Linked DNA regions of Homo sapiens: all the other regions are linked to region 2. Evidence: promoter capture Hi-C in human tissues and cell types (Jung and others, 2019). All regions are on one chromosome and are shown on one strand. Each heading gives the region's core, a stretch centred on a gene start or on the middle of the fragment in contact. The rest is flanking DNA. Distances are from core to core; before and after follow the strand shown.

What was found. The method cuts DNA at HindIII sites, captures the fragments that hold promoters and counts their contacts. A contact is called where the count stands out against the background at its distance.
Region 1: a contact is called between a fragment that was not itself captured here and the fragment with the promoter of GID8 in region 2, in 2 of the 25 tissues and cell types used here (adrenal gland and spleen).
Region 3: a fragment that was not itself captured here is called in contact with the fragment with the promoter of GID8 in region 2 in 4 of the 25 tissues and cell types used here (H1 embryonic stem cells, IMR-90 fibroblasts, dorsolateral prefrontal cortex and 1 more).

What each region holds. Positions count from the first base shown.
Region 1 is chr20:62,750,850-62,754,712 of GRCh38, reverse strand. It overlaps NTSR1 (neurotensin receptor 1), which reads right to left. Exons shown (of 4, transcript NM_002531.3): 2 at 1-28. Among named protein-coding and RNA genes, the nearest start is that of NTSR1-AS1, 17 kb to the right of the region's middle. The HindIII fragment of the contact is 7,649 bases long and covers 1-3,863 here.
Region 2 is chr20:62,935,951-62,939,467 of GRCh38, reverse strand. GID8 (GID complex subunit 8 homolog) reads right to left here and starts at 1,321. Exons shown (of 5, transcript NM_017896.3): 1 at 1,215-1,321. It also overlaps a transcript of DIDO1 not described here. RefSeq lists silencers at 951-1,080, 1,151-1,380, 1,751-1,800, 2,071-2,120 and an enhancer at 587-1,255. The HindIII fragment of the contact is 10,021 bases long and covers 1-3,517 here.
Region 3 is chr20:63,088,051-63,091,799 of GRCh38, reverse strand. No RefSeq gene overlaps it. Among named protein-coding and RNA genes, the nearest start is that of LINC01749, 9.9 kb to the right of the region's middle. The HindIII fragment of the contact is 3,451 bases long and covers 1-2,993 here.

The DNA of each region.
Region 1 (3,863 bases), core at 1,123-3,622, 190 kb after region 2:
GGAATATGAAGGACATGAAGGTGTTGACCTGCAGGAGAGGAAGGGCGAGGCTGTCAGAGCCAGCAGCGGGACTCATGCACCCTCAGCTGGGATGCCTGCCGTGCTGATTGGGGTGTCAGGCCTGCTCAGTGTGAGGTGCTCAGTCAACACAAGTTCAGGAGGTCCGGCCCTATCCCGGCTGCCCGGAAGACATGGCCACCCCTGGCTGCTGTTGTAAGCTGGCCCTCAGCCTGCCCCCGACCCTGCCTCTGACTGGGAAGAAGTTTGCAGACTCCCCTACTTTCATGAGTCCCTCCCGAGGGTCCCGCCTGTACACAGCAAGGAACACAACCACTGGGGTGTCCCAGCTGTGGCAAAGGCCCTAGGCTCTAGGTTCCCAGGTCTGGACATGTTGTGTGCATGGCTGAGGCCCACAAGCACGTGGCTGCCCCACCCCAAGGCCCGTCCTGTGGGAGAGTCAAGCCCTGGCCTTGTAGCTGTGTGCAGACAGTTCTCCTAGGTCCTGACAGCTCACACTAATAGAGGCCCCTTCCTCCCTCCCACCCCAGCTACCTCTCAGAGCATTGAAAGGTATAGGGCCCCTGTTATCAGCACCTGGAGCCCCCACTCCCCACCTCTAGCTTCCACATCAACCCACAAGGCTGGGTCATCATAGCTACCCTGCACCTGATCCGAGTCCTGGACAGGGTAGAGGTCCTGCCCAAAGACTCCAGCGCAAGGGGGGCTGTGCCTGGATTTGAGCCTGGCCTGAGCTGAGTCCCGCTCCTTCTGCGACTCCTGGCTGAGACGTGACTCTGTAGGCACTGGCAGGGTGGCTGTGACTTCCCCAGATGGGCAGTGGCCTAGCCTCCTCCTCAACCAGAGCTGCTGCTCAGAACAGGAAGGGGACATGTCTGCGGACTGGCAGCAGCAGAACCAGCCAGGACGGCCATGGCCCGGCTTCCAATGGAGAAACCGGCACCCCTCCCTGGGGCAGTGGAATAACAGCCATCAATGGCTTTAAAATCTTCCTTGGCCTTCGGTTCTTTGTAAGATGCTCTTCTCTGCAAGCCAGATCTTGGCGTCTTTGGCTGCCACACTTGCGGGTTCGATCCTGTGCCGGGGACGGAGGCTGCCCCCTCTCTGCCAAGCTGCCCGGGATCCTCATGCTGAATTTCTGATTCCAAGAAGCTTTTGGGTGTCTTGGAGAAGCGGCCTGTACTAGCTCTGTGGCTGGTGGCTGTGATTGCGGTAGAAAGTCCAGGGGTATCTGCCGTGGGATTCCCTGGGCTGGGCTGCAGGGGCCACCTCCCTCCCAACCTCCTGCCACAAGGGAGGGCAGAGCCACATGGCCTCAACAGTCCAAGTCAGGATGGTCCCGGTGAGGACAATCCTCGCCGTGTCTCGCTAATGAAGGCGGCGGTGGCCATGGGACAGGGCAGCCACTGAGAGGTGCTGGGGTCGTGGGAATGTCGGCAGGTTTTCTCCCTGGCCCCCTCTGGGCACCGGCTGAGGCACCTCTGGAGGTCCTTCCTGCTCCCATCGAAGCTCCCGGCTCCACTCAGAAGCACTCAGAGGCCTTCAGGAAGGAGGCGGCCTGAGTTTACCCTCACATTCCATTTGAGCAGAGTTCTGCTAACAGATCAGAGGACATGCATGGAGAGGGGGCACTCAAACCCCCGGGAGGCAGCATCCTGCACCTGCCAGCCCAGCGCCCCTTGCTCGTGCCACCTGTGTGGGCTCCTGAGAGCCACCACCACCGCTGCTGACCCTGGCTGGGTGGCGGGTCTGTTCTGCCCTCCCCTGCTTGGGCGTCCGGATCTGAGGCCGTCCCGCGTCCCTCCTGTTCTCCTGCTCTGGCCGAAGTCCACCTTCTGCAGGACAACAAGGTGCTGGTGAGACTGGGGGCAGGTAAAAACTCCCTCTTCCCACTCCGGCTGCTGGGAGCGGGGACAGGGGAGGCCAGGCCCAGCCTCAGGAGATAAACCCATTCCCTGTGAGTCACCGCAGCCCGGGGATAGTTTAAACAGCACCAATGTATCCAACACAGATTTTAAATGTCAAAACATTTAAAATACCAACCTCACCAACACGGCTGGCTGCAAAAATAGCTACCTCTGGGGGCTGGTGGGTTGTAGGGTCTGGCCCCGGCCCCCTGGCTGCCCCCGTTGGAGGATCCTGCCGTTTCCAGAGGGAGGGAACAGAGTCTGCCGCAGGGCCACGTGTGGGGACAGAGGCGGGGCCTTGCAGAGGAAGTCTGGCCCTCCCCCGCCTCCCCCACCTGCCCACCCTGGAGACTGAAGCCGAGTAGGATTGGGGGGTGAGGGGAATGCACCCCGACTCCTGGGGCCGGCCTTCTCTTCCCAGACGCACAGCTGGAAGCAGGGGCTTTGGCTTGCGCCGTCCTTTCCTGTAATCTCTCCCGCTCTGGGTAAGGAGCTGCCCCCCACCTCCACAACAAGCAAAGGGAGCACGTCCATCGGCAGCGCGGGGACTCGGAGGAAAGCCTGCGATGCTGCTGGGGGTGAGGGGAGGTGAGGGGAGGACTGAGCGAGGGGAAGGACAGGCCCCTTCCTGGACAGAAGGACCCGTTGAGATCACGTCTGTGCATCCAGTCCCTATAAAACACGAGAGCTGTTGTGCATAGACACATGGACTCTACAGTTCAAGTGGGAAATAGTCTCAGAATGGCCAGAAAGGCTCTTGAAAGGCAGGTCGCTAGGACAAGGGAGCGTCAGCCTTGCCAGCCACTGGGATGTACCTGAGTGTCACTGAGAGTGACCTTAATGAGGAGAATTTGGCATCGACAGTGCCAGATCAGACAGAAGCTCCATCTGTGATGGAGACAGCATCCAGATCATCGGGGAGAAGACTGGCCACCCAGGCATGGCGCTGGACAGCTGACGGCCTGGACCACAGGAAGCTGGGTCCTCAGGGCCCCTGTCCCACCCGCCTCCTTCCCCTGGGGAGCCGTGCACCCTCCATCCCACTGGCATGTGGCCCAGACCTGGCCAATCAACACATCCCAAAAGGCCTGGGTAGGCCCTCATTGGACAGGTCAGCCAAACATTTGCATCAGTCACATTTGTCTGATGAGGGCCAGCCCCAAACCTTTGCTAGACACCAGCTTTGCCTGGGCTCACTGAGCAGGAAATGCATCCGTGGCCGTCAGTGCCGTTTTCCTACCTTTTAGAGAAGACCTGCCTAAGAATAAAGCCAGCACCGGTGAAGCGGGGCACCCCATGACATTGTTTGTGCTCCTGGGTCAAGCTGCGCCTGCAGCTATTATTCTTGGACTTTCAGTGTGTCTTGAGTGAAATAAATATTCCTTTTCTTAAGGGATAAGACAATTTGACTTAGTTCCTGGAGTTAGTACCCTAACTCATAGAGATCTTACCCCAAAAAAATTCCACATGGTAAGAAGATTAAAACCTAAAACCAAAAACCGTAACATTACTATAAGAAATCATGGAAGTTTTAAATTTAAATGTATATATTTTTAACCTTTTCCCCCAGCTTTATTGAGGGATAATTGACAAATAAAAATTGTATCTATTGGCCAGGTACCGTGGCTCATTCCTGTAATCACAGTATTTTGGGAGACTGAGGCAGGAAGATCCCTTGAGGCCAGGAGTTTGAGACCAGTCTGGGCAACACAGTGAGACCCCATCTCTACAAAAACTAAAAAAAATCATCCAGGCATGCTGGCATACGCCTATAGTGCCAGCTACTTGGGAGGCTGAGATGGGAGGATTGTTTGAGCCCAGGAGTTTGAGGCTACAGTGAGCTATGACTTCGCCACTGCACTCCAGCCTGGGCAACAGAGTGAGACGCCCATCGCAAAAATATTTGTATCTATTGACTGTGTACAATGTGATGTTGTC
Region 2 (3,517 bases), core at 72-2,571:
GCTCAGAGCTGAAAACATGAATTAGTGAAATAAGGGGCGGGGGGGGCGGTGCTGGGGCACAGGGATATTTAAAGCCAAGAATTCAGCAAAGACCATAGGAAGAGCGTAGATAGGGAATGAGAATCGCCATTACTTGGAGGATGCCAACCTTGAAGGTAAAGCAGAGAAAGTGGCACCAGCAGAAGAAAACTTGATGTGGAGCGGCAGGTAAAGTGGAGGAGAAACCAGGAGTCGCTGTCACACACGAACACCCATCTTTCGTTGTCAACTGCAAAACTCACTGAGACCAACTTTTTATTCACGACAATTAATGGTAACTTAAGGACTCATTTTCTTTTTCTTTTTTTTTTGAGACAGAGCCTCGCTCTGTCGCCCAGGCTGGAGGGCAGTGGCGCGATCATGGCTCACCGCAGCCTCGACCTCCTGGGCTCAAGCGATCCTCCCACCTCAGCCTCCAGAGTAACTGGGACAACAGGAGCGCACCACTCTGCCTGGCTAATTTTTTTATTTTTAGCAGAGAAGGGAGTCTCGCTGTTGCCACGGCTGGTCTCGAACTCGCGGGCTCAAGTGATCCGCCCACTTCGACCTCCGCCACCGCGCCCGGCCCTAGGACCAACGTTAAGAGCTCCCTAGGAAAAGGCACCTTTTCTCTCGGCCCATTCGGTGATCGGCACTCACAGCGCTTCCACTCCGGGCAGTTACGTGCGCCCATGAAAAGCAACAACTTTGTAGAACTGGCCAGTCCTGTTAGCAGGAAGAACTCGGTAGTCTCAAACTCCAGCATAAAAAGATTCAGCAGAAGAAAACACCCGTGTGCTGAAGACTCCTACTTTCCATGCCACACTTTACATCCTCACCCGCTCGGTTTCTGCTTTAAAGCAGCAGATTTTATTAAAAAGACTTCGTTACGGACGTCGCTCCTCCACAGAGACAGCTACCGCCGCCCCTCAGGCTGGCCGGGACCGCCCCAGAACACCAGCGCCTGAGGCCGCGCGCCTGGAGGCTGAGCCCTGACTGCCCCCTGGGCACCGGCGCGGGGCGGCCGTCCGGGCCTGGACTCACTGCGCGCCCCAATTCCGCACCTGCCAGCGCCGGCGCTTCCAAGGCCCCCAGAGCGGGGGCGGCGCGCACCCCGGCCACATCCCGCCTGCCCGCCCGGCCCGGCCCCGGGAGACGCTCGGCCCGGCCGCCCGGGCCCGCCGCCGCCATCTTACCGTGCGGAACCTGCCTCCCGCGCTGCGCGGTCTGGGCGGCTGCGGCTCCGCAGCCTCTCCTGGGCTGGGGAGAGGTGGCGGCCGCCGGGGCGCCCGAGTAGAAGGAGGCAGAGGTGGGGGCCGCGGCGGAGGCGGGGGCGGGGGCGGGGGCGGGGAGCGGGAGGGCAGGCGCACCGGAGGCCGCCCCTCAGCACCTCTCGCGACAGCAAGAGAGCGCGAGAGCGCGAGCCGATGACCAATGAAGCGCCCCCGCGAGGGGGCGGGGCGGACGGCCTCCCGGAAGCGCGGAACCTCAGCTTCCGTACTTGCGCAGAACTCCCCTCGCGGCGACCACGCACTACGGGTTGGCGCCAGAGTCAAAAGGCGTCGGCCCTCTGGCAAGATGGCTGCTGCGGAGGCGTTGGAGCGCGGAAATCTGGAACCGGGATGGCGACGTCTACACTGAGTCGGAGGCGAAGGTCCCAGCTTTTTTCCTGTCGTTTGCGTGAGGCCGCACGGGGTGGGGCGGGGGAAAGGCGCCGGGTGTCCGCGGCCGCCCCTCAGACGGGGAGGGAGTCCCCTCCCGACCGGCGGCCTTCCAGGGCTAGTGTCCCTGAGGTCCAGGGAGAGACGGCTGACCCGAGACCGGGCTGGGCGAGAGCTGTGCTGTCTGCGCGTTGAAGCGAGTTCCCCCGCTTTACTCGAGATGTTGTTGAGCGCGTCCTCACTCGAGGCCAGGTGGGGAATCAGAAGGGCCCTGCCCTCAGGGCGCCTCCCATGGGCTACGCCGAAGGGCGGGACGCGGCCAGGGCGCGCGGGACAAAGGAGACCCCACTTGCTTGCGGGGCGGAGTCCCGGCGGCGGCGCGGGGCAGGGCCGGGGTTACTCGGTGACTGGAGACCCTCCCGGCAGGAGCGCGGGTTGAGGCCGCACTTGGGTATTTGCGCGTTTACTTGCTTATTGCCTGTCCGCTCAGGAGGAATGCGAAGTCTGTCATTGCAGGGTCCCATGTTTCCGTTGCTGGGAAGTACCTTAAAATATTTGATAGAGCCGAAGGAAGAAATAGAGTCCTTGAGGGGCAGCTCCTGATTTCATCTGTGAGGAATTCACGGGACGGCTTCTTTCTGAAGTCAGGGGTGAGGTGGTTTCGTGTGTTTGCTTACAAGCGAGCTGAACAACGTGTAAGCTATGTCGGTCGGTCTACTCAGCGACAGTAAGTCCAGTTCGGCAAATAGGTTGGAGGAGACTGATTTTGGACATTTTCCGTTAATCGAAAGAGCTAAATCTGCAGGTATAAGGTCTTGACAAAATTATGCTTCATATGCAGAGGCAGTACATGCCAGTAATTTTTTCATTTGCAACTACATAACCCTATGGGAAACAGTTATTGGTCTTTATTTAGTTATTTATTTTGAGACGAAGTCTCACTCTCGCCCAGGCTGGAGCGCAGTGGCGCCATCTCGGCTCACTGCAACCTCCGCCTCCCGGGTTCAAGCGATTCTCCTGCCTCAGCCTCCCGAGTAGCTGGGACCACAGGGGCGCACCACCACGCCCAGCTAATTTTTGTATTTTTAGTAGAGACGGGGTTTCCCCTTGTTGGTCAGGCTGGTCTCAGTGTCTTGACCTCGTGATCCGCCCGCCTCGGACTCCCAAAGTGCTGGGATTACAGGCGTGAGCCACCGCTCCCGGCCTATTTTGATTTTATTTTATTCTATTTTTTGAGAAGGAGTCTCACTTTGTTGCCCAGGCTGGAGTGCACTGTCATGATCTCGACTCACTGCAACCTCCGCCTCCTGGGTTCAAGTGATTCTCCTGCCTCAGCCTCCCGAGTAGCTGGAACTACAGGCACCCGCCACCACGCCCGGCTACTTATTTTGTATTTTTAGTACGGGTGGGGTTTCACCATGTTGGCTAGGCTGGTCTCGAACTCCTGACCTCAAATGATCACCCACCTCGGCCTCCCAAGGTGCTCGGATTACAGTCATGAGCCACCGCATCCGGCCTATTTTTATTTTTTAAAGTTTTTTAGAGACGGGGTCTTGCCTTCTTGCCCAGGCTGGTCTCGATCTCCTGGGCTCAAGCCATCCTCCCGCCTCGGCCTCTGGGAGTGCTGGGTTTACAGGCGTCAGCCACCATGCCCAGCCTGAACGTCAAGGAGAAAGTGTGCAAGGGGATGCACGAGCAGAAAGCTTGAGTGCTAGCGCCTTAAGGCGACATTCCTTAACATTCCAGTCCAAAGAGGCTGTCTCAGTGCCTGCCTGTGGGTCACAGGTTAATGCTCCTCCTCCCAACAGCCAACCGGTTACCAAGTCCTGCTCGAGCCC
Region 3 (3,749 bases), core at 19-2,518, 150 kb before region 2:
TTGAGTAGACTAATTTGTACAGAATTTGCCAGAATTGACAACCTGCAGGTATGATTTCCAAAAATTTAACTGGCTTTTATCACCTGCCCTAGGACCAAGAAGCTTGACCTTTTCTCCCCAACTGCTAAATCGCCAGTCCTTTGGAGCAACAGTGTCCTCTACATAAAGGAGCAGTTAGACTAATTTAAAACAGTATTGACCTTTCCTTCCTGCCCTTTTCATTTTGACTAAATTACAGGGTGCGGCTCTGCAATTCGCCTTCCGGTCTGTGAGTGACTCCGAGTCAGCACCCACCTTGCCTTGCTGCTTAATCAAGGAGAGTGCTGCTGCTGGTGATGCAGGGCAGGGCACCAACGCCCTGGGGCGATGCAGGGCAGGGCACCATCCACCAACGCCCCGACCCAGCGTCTCTCGTGGGGTCAAGGTTACAAGGAAGGCGGGCCAGGGGCGAGGCCTGCCTCTGTCCACAGGCAGACACGGATGCCGAGGCTGGAAGGACCTTCCTGGCCCTCTCCTAACGGAGGCCCCGAGAGGGGAGGAGGCTGCAGGGATCATCCAGCCCCTCAGGGCAGCACTCAGACCAGCCTCAGGGCCATCAGCCAGGACGGCCGGTATCCTTGACTCTTGCTTCAGGTCCCAACACTCTATTTCAAGGGGATGCTGGGCCCTCCCCAATAACTCCCCACCGTGTCCCAGGAGAGCCTCCAGCTGGCCAAGAAGCCTCACCTGGCTCACAGCTTTGCTGCCCTTAAACTGAGGTCACAACAGGCCCTGGTGTCAGTGCAGCCTTGGCTCCCAAGGGTGACACATCCGCGCCTTTCCGTGGATCCCAGGCTGGTGTGGGGAGGGTGTCAGGTGGGCAGGTGGGCTGCCAGGATGGCTGGCACAGGGGTTCCTGGGGCCTGGGACATCCAGGGATGGGAACGGGCAGGTGTCCTGGGGAAGGGAAGGCTGGCCCGAGTGTCGCTGAGGCCTTGAGAATGCCCTGAGCAGAGGGAACAAAGTGTCCTGGAGGGCGGCCCAGCCAACGCCTCCCGCAAGGGTCCAGTGGAAATGTAAAAGCATCTTGGGGGCCAGGCGCAGTGGCTCACGCCTGTAATCCCAGCACCTTGGGGTCCTGGCGCAGTGGCTCACGCCTGTAATCCCAGCACCCTGGGAGGCCAAGGTGGGCGGATCACAAGGTCAGGAGATCGAGACCATCCTGGCTAACACTGTGAAGCCACGTCTCTACTAAAAATATAAAAAATTAGCCAGGCGTGCTGGTGGCATGCTCCTGCAGTCCCAGCTACTCAGGAGGCTGAGGCAGGAGAGTTGCTTGAACCCAGGAAGCGGAGGATGCAGTGAGCAGAGATCGTGCCACCGCACTCCAGCCTGAGTGACAGAGTGAGACTTCATCTCAAAAAAAAAAAAAAAAAAAAAAGCGAGGCAGGGGGAGCGGCCAGGTCTTTCGTCTAAGAAACATGCTCAGCTGATGACAGGGCCTATGAGTCTCAGTGGCCTGGCATGAGCATCTACTACATGCCTGAGCACCTACTGTGTGCCTGAGAGCCTACTGTGTGCAGCCCCCTCAACCCCAGGCACTTCCCAAGCAGAACATGTGACTGAGGGCTCCCAGATGTGGCTCCCGCCACCTTGGCAGCTCACTGATGGCTTACAGAGCACTCCTGGTCTTGGCGTTTAATACATATAATGAATTTATAGCACCCAGTGTATATTGGAAATAGTTTAACTTATCAATTCCCTGAGTCACTCACAATCCCCTTTTTCAATTTCCTGAAGCTACTTGGTTTGAGCCAATACTCCAGTCATGACCCAGCGTGGGCAACCTTTTCCTGTAAAAGCCAGATCACCAGTCAATGTTTGTCCCCGGGGGACATTTGACAGTGTCTGGAGATATTTTTAATTGTTATAATTAAACGTATAATAGGGAGAGGATGCTACCGCCATCCCATGGGTGAGGCCGGGGAAGCTGCCACGCTGCCACAGTCAGAGCAGCCCCCACCAAGACCCTCGGTCCCAGATGCCAGCAGCGCACGGCTGAGAGCCTGGCCCGCGGTCCTGAGGGCACACTGGGAGCTGAGTGTTGCACCGCATAACAACGGGGGCTTTGGGTAAATCTCCCCAGCCTCCGTCTGGTCGCCCGCACCCAGGGACGATCTCCCCAGCCTCCGTCTGGTCGCCCGCACCCAGGGACGATCTCCCCAGCCTCCGTCTGGTCGCCCGCACCCAGGGACAATCTCCCCAGCCTCTGTCTGGTAACCTGCACCCAGGGACGATCTCCCCAGCCTCTGTCTGGTCACCTGCACCCAGGGACAGAGATGGCATCTTGGGTGGGTGTGGCTCATCGCAGCATATGTGTGAGTGACTAAGTTCCGGGAGGACGCAGGCCTGCCTGACAGGTGCTGGTACTTTTCCAGGCCTGGGGGTGGCGTGACTGACACACAGGTGCCTCCCGCTCTTGGGGTTACCTGTGGGGTTGCCGTGAGGCCGAAGTCACAAGTGAGTTGAACAGCCTGGGGCACAGGTGTGGTGCAGGTGGCCCAGCCTGCAGGCCAGGTTGTGACAGAGGCAGTCTCTGCAGCCAGTTCTCACCCTAATGTGCTGGCAGCCAGCCCTGCCGAAACCCCAGCGTGTCAGGAAAAGAACAACTTTCTCAGAATGTGCTTCATGCTCAAAAACGGGCCCCATCAAGCAGGTCCCCTGGTGCGAGGTCTCGGGGCGCCCTGCCTCTGGGCTTCCGGTGTTGCTCTCGGGGTCTAGCCGTGCTCAGTAGGGAAGTCAGGGTCAGGTGCAGTGGGAGGCTTATCCCAAAGGAGGCCAGCTACTCTCCCACTAATGTATAATGATGTGGTCACAACGACTCCATATTTATACAGTAACTACCCACCCTAGGGTTTACCTGATGATTTTGCTTGGAGTTAGCATGTGAATCAGGGTATAATTACCCCGCATAATTGTTCAATCTCATAGTAACACTTTAATTTGCAAAGCAAAAATAACCATGTGATTACCCTGCAATTACATGATAGTTACTATTCAATTACTTCTATAGAGTTTGCGGTATGTTTACAGACTGGCTAATGCCCATGTGCCCTTCCCTGAGTAGTACCATGTTCTCAGGTGCCTGGGTGACAACTGTCTGATGAGCTATGTCTGTCATCAGCAAAGCTCAAGTCAGCTCTGGGTCCCCAGCTCGGGACCCTCTCCCAGCAAGCTCCGGGGGCTGCCTGAGACCCCAGCCTGCAGGTGCTCCCGCCTCACCACCACCGCCGCCAGCCTCCCCACCCCTTCCACTCTCAGGACGCTCTGAGCCTGAGCCCGGTGCTGGGCAGGTGTTCTGATCGCACCTGTTACACCACAGCTGCAGCCCAGGTGCTGGAGACGCTCATCATTGCAGCAAGAGGAACAATGGCAGCCTCTGCTCAGAGCCTCCACCTGCCTGGTCCTGTAAGGAAAGGCTTCCCCTGGAGGGGTTGCTTCATCCTCGCTGAACTGTGATCACGGAACTGCAGCCATTCCCGTCTGGAGGTGAGGAAACTGCGTCCAGACACGAATGCGTGTCCCAAGTCTACACGGCTGATGCGAGGAGGCCCATACCTGTCTAAATCCAGAACCCACGCCCTGGGTCCCTGCAGGCTGAGGTTGCAAGGGGTTCCCTGGAAGGCACAGCAGGTAAACCTGGGGCCGTGCTCCCTCCTGTTGGGCAGGGATAACTTCTGCACACCTTTGCCCATTTCTCTGGGGCATTC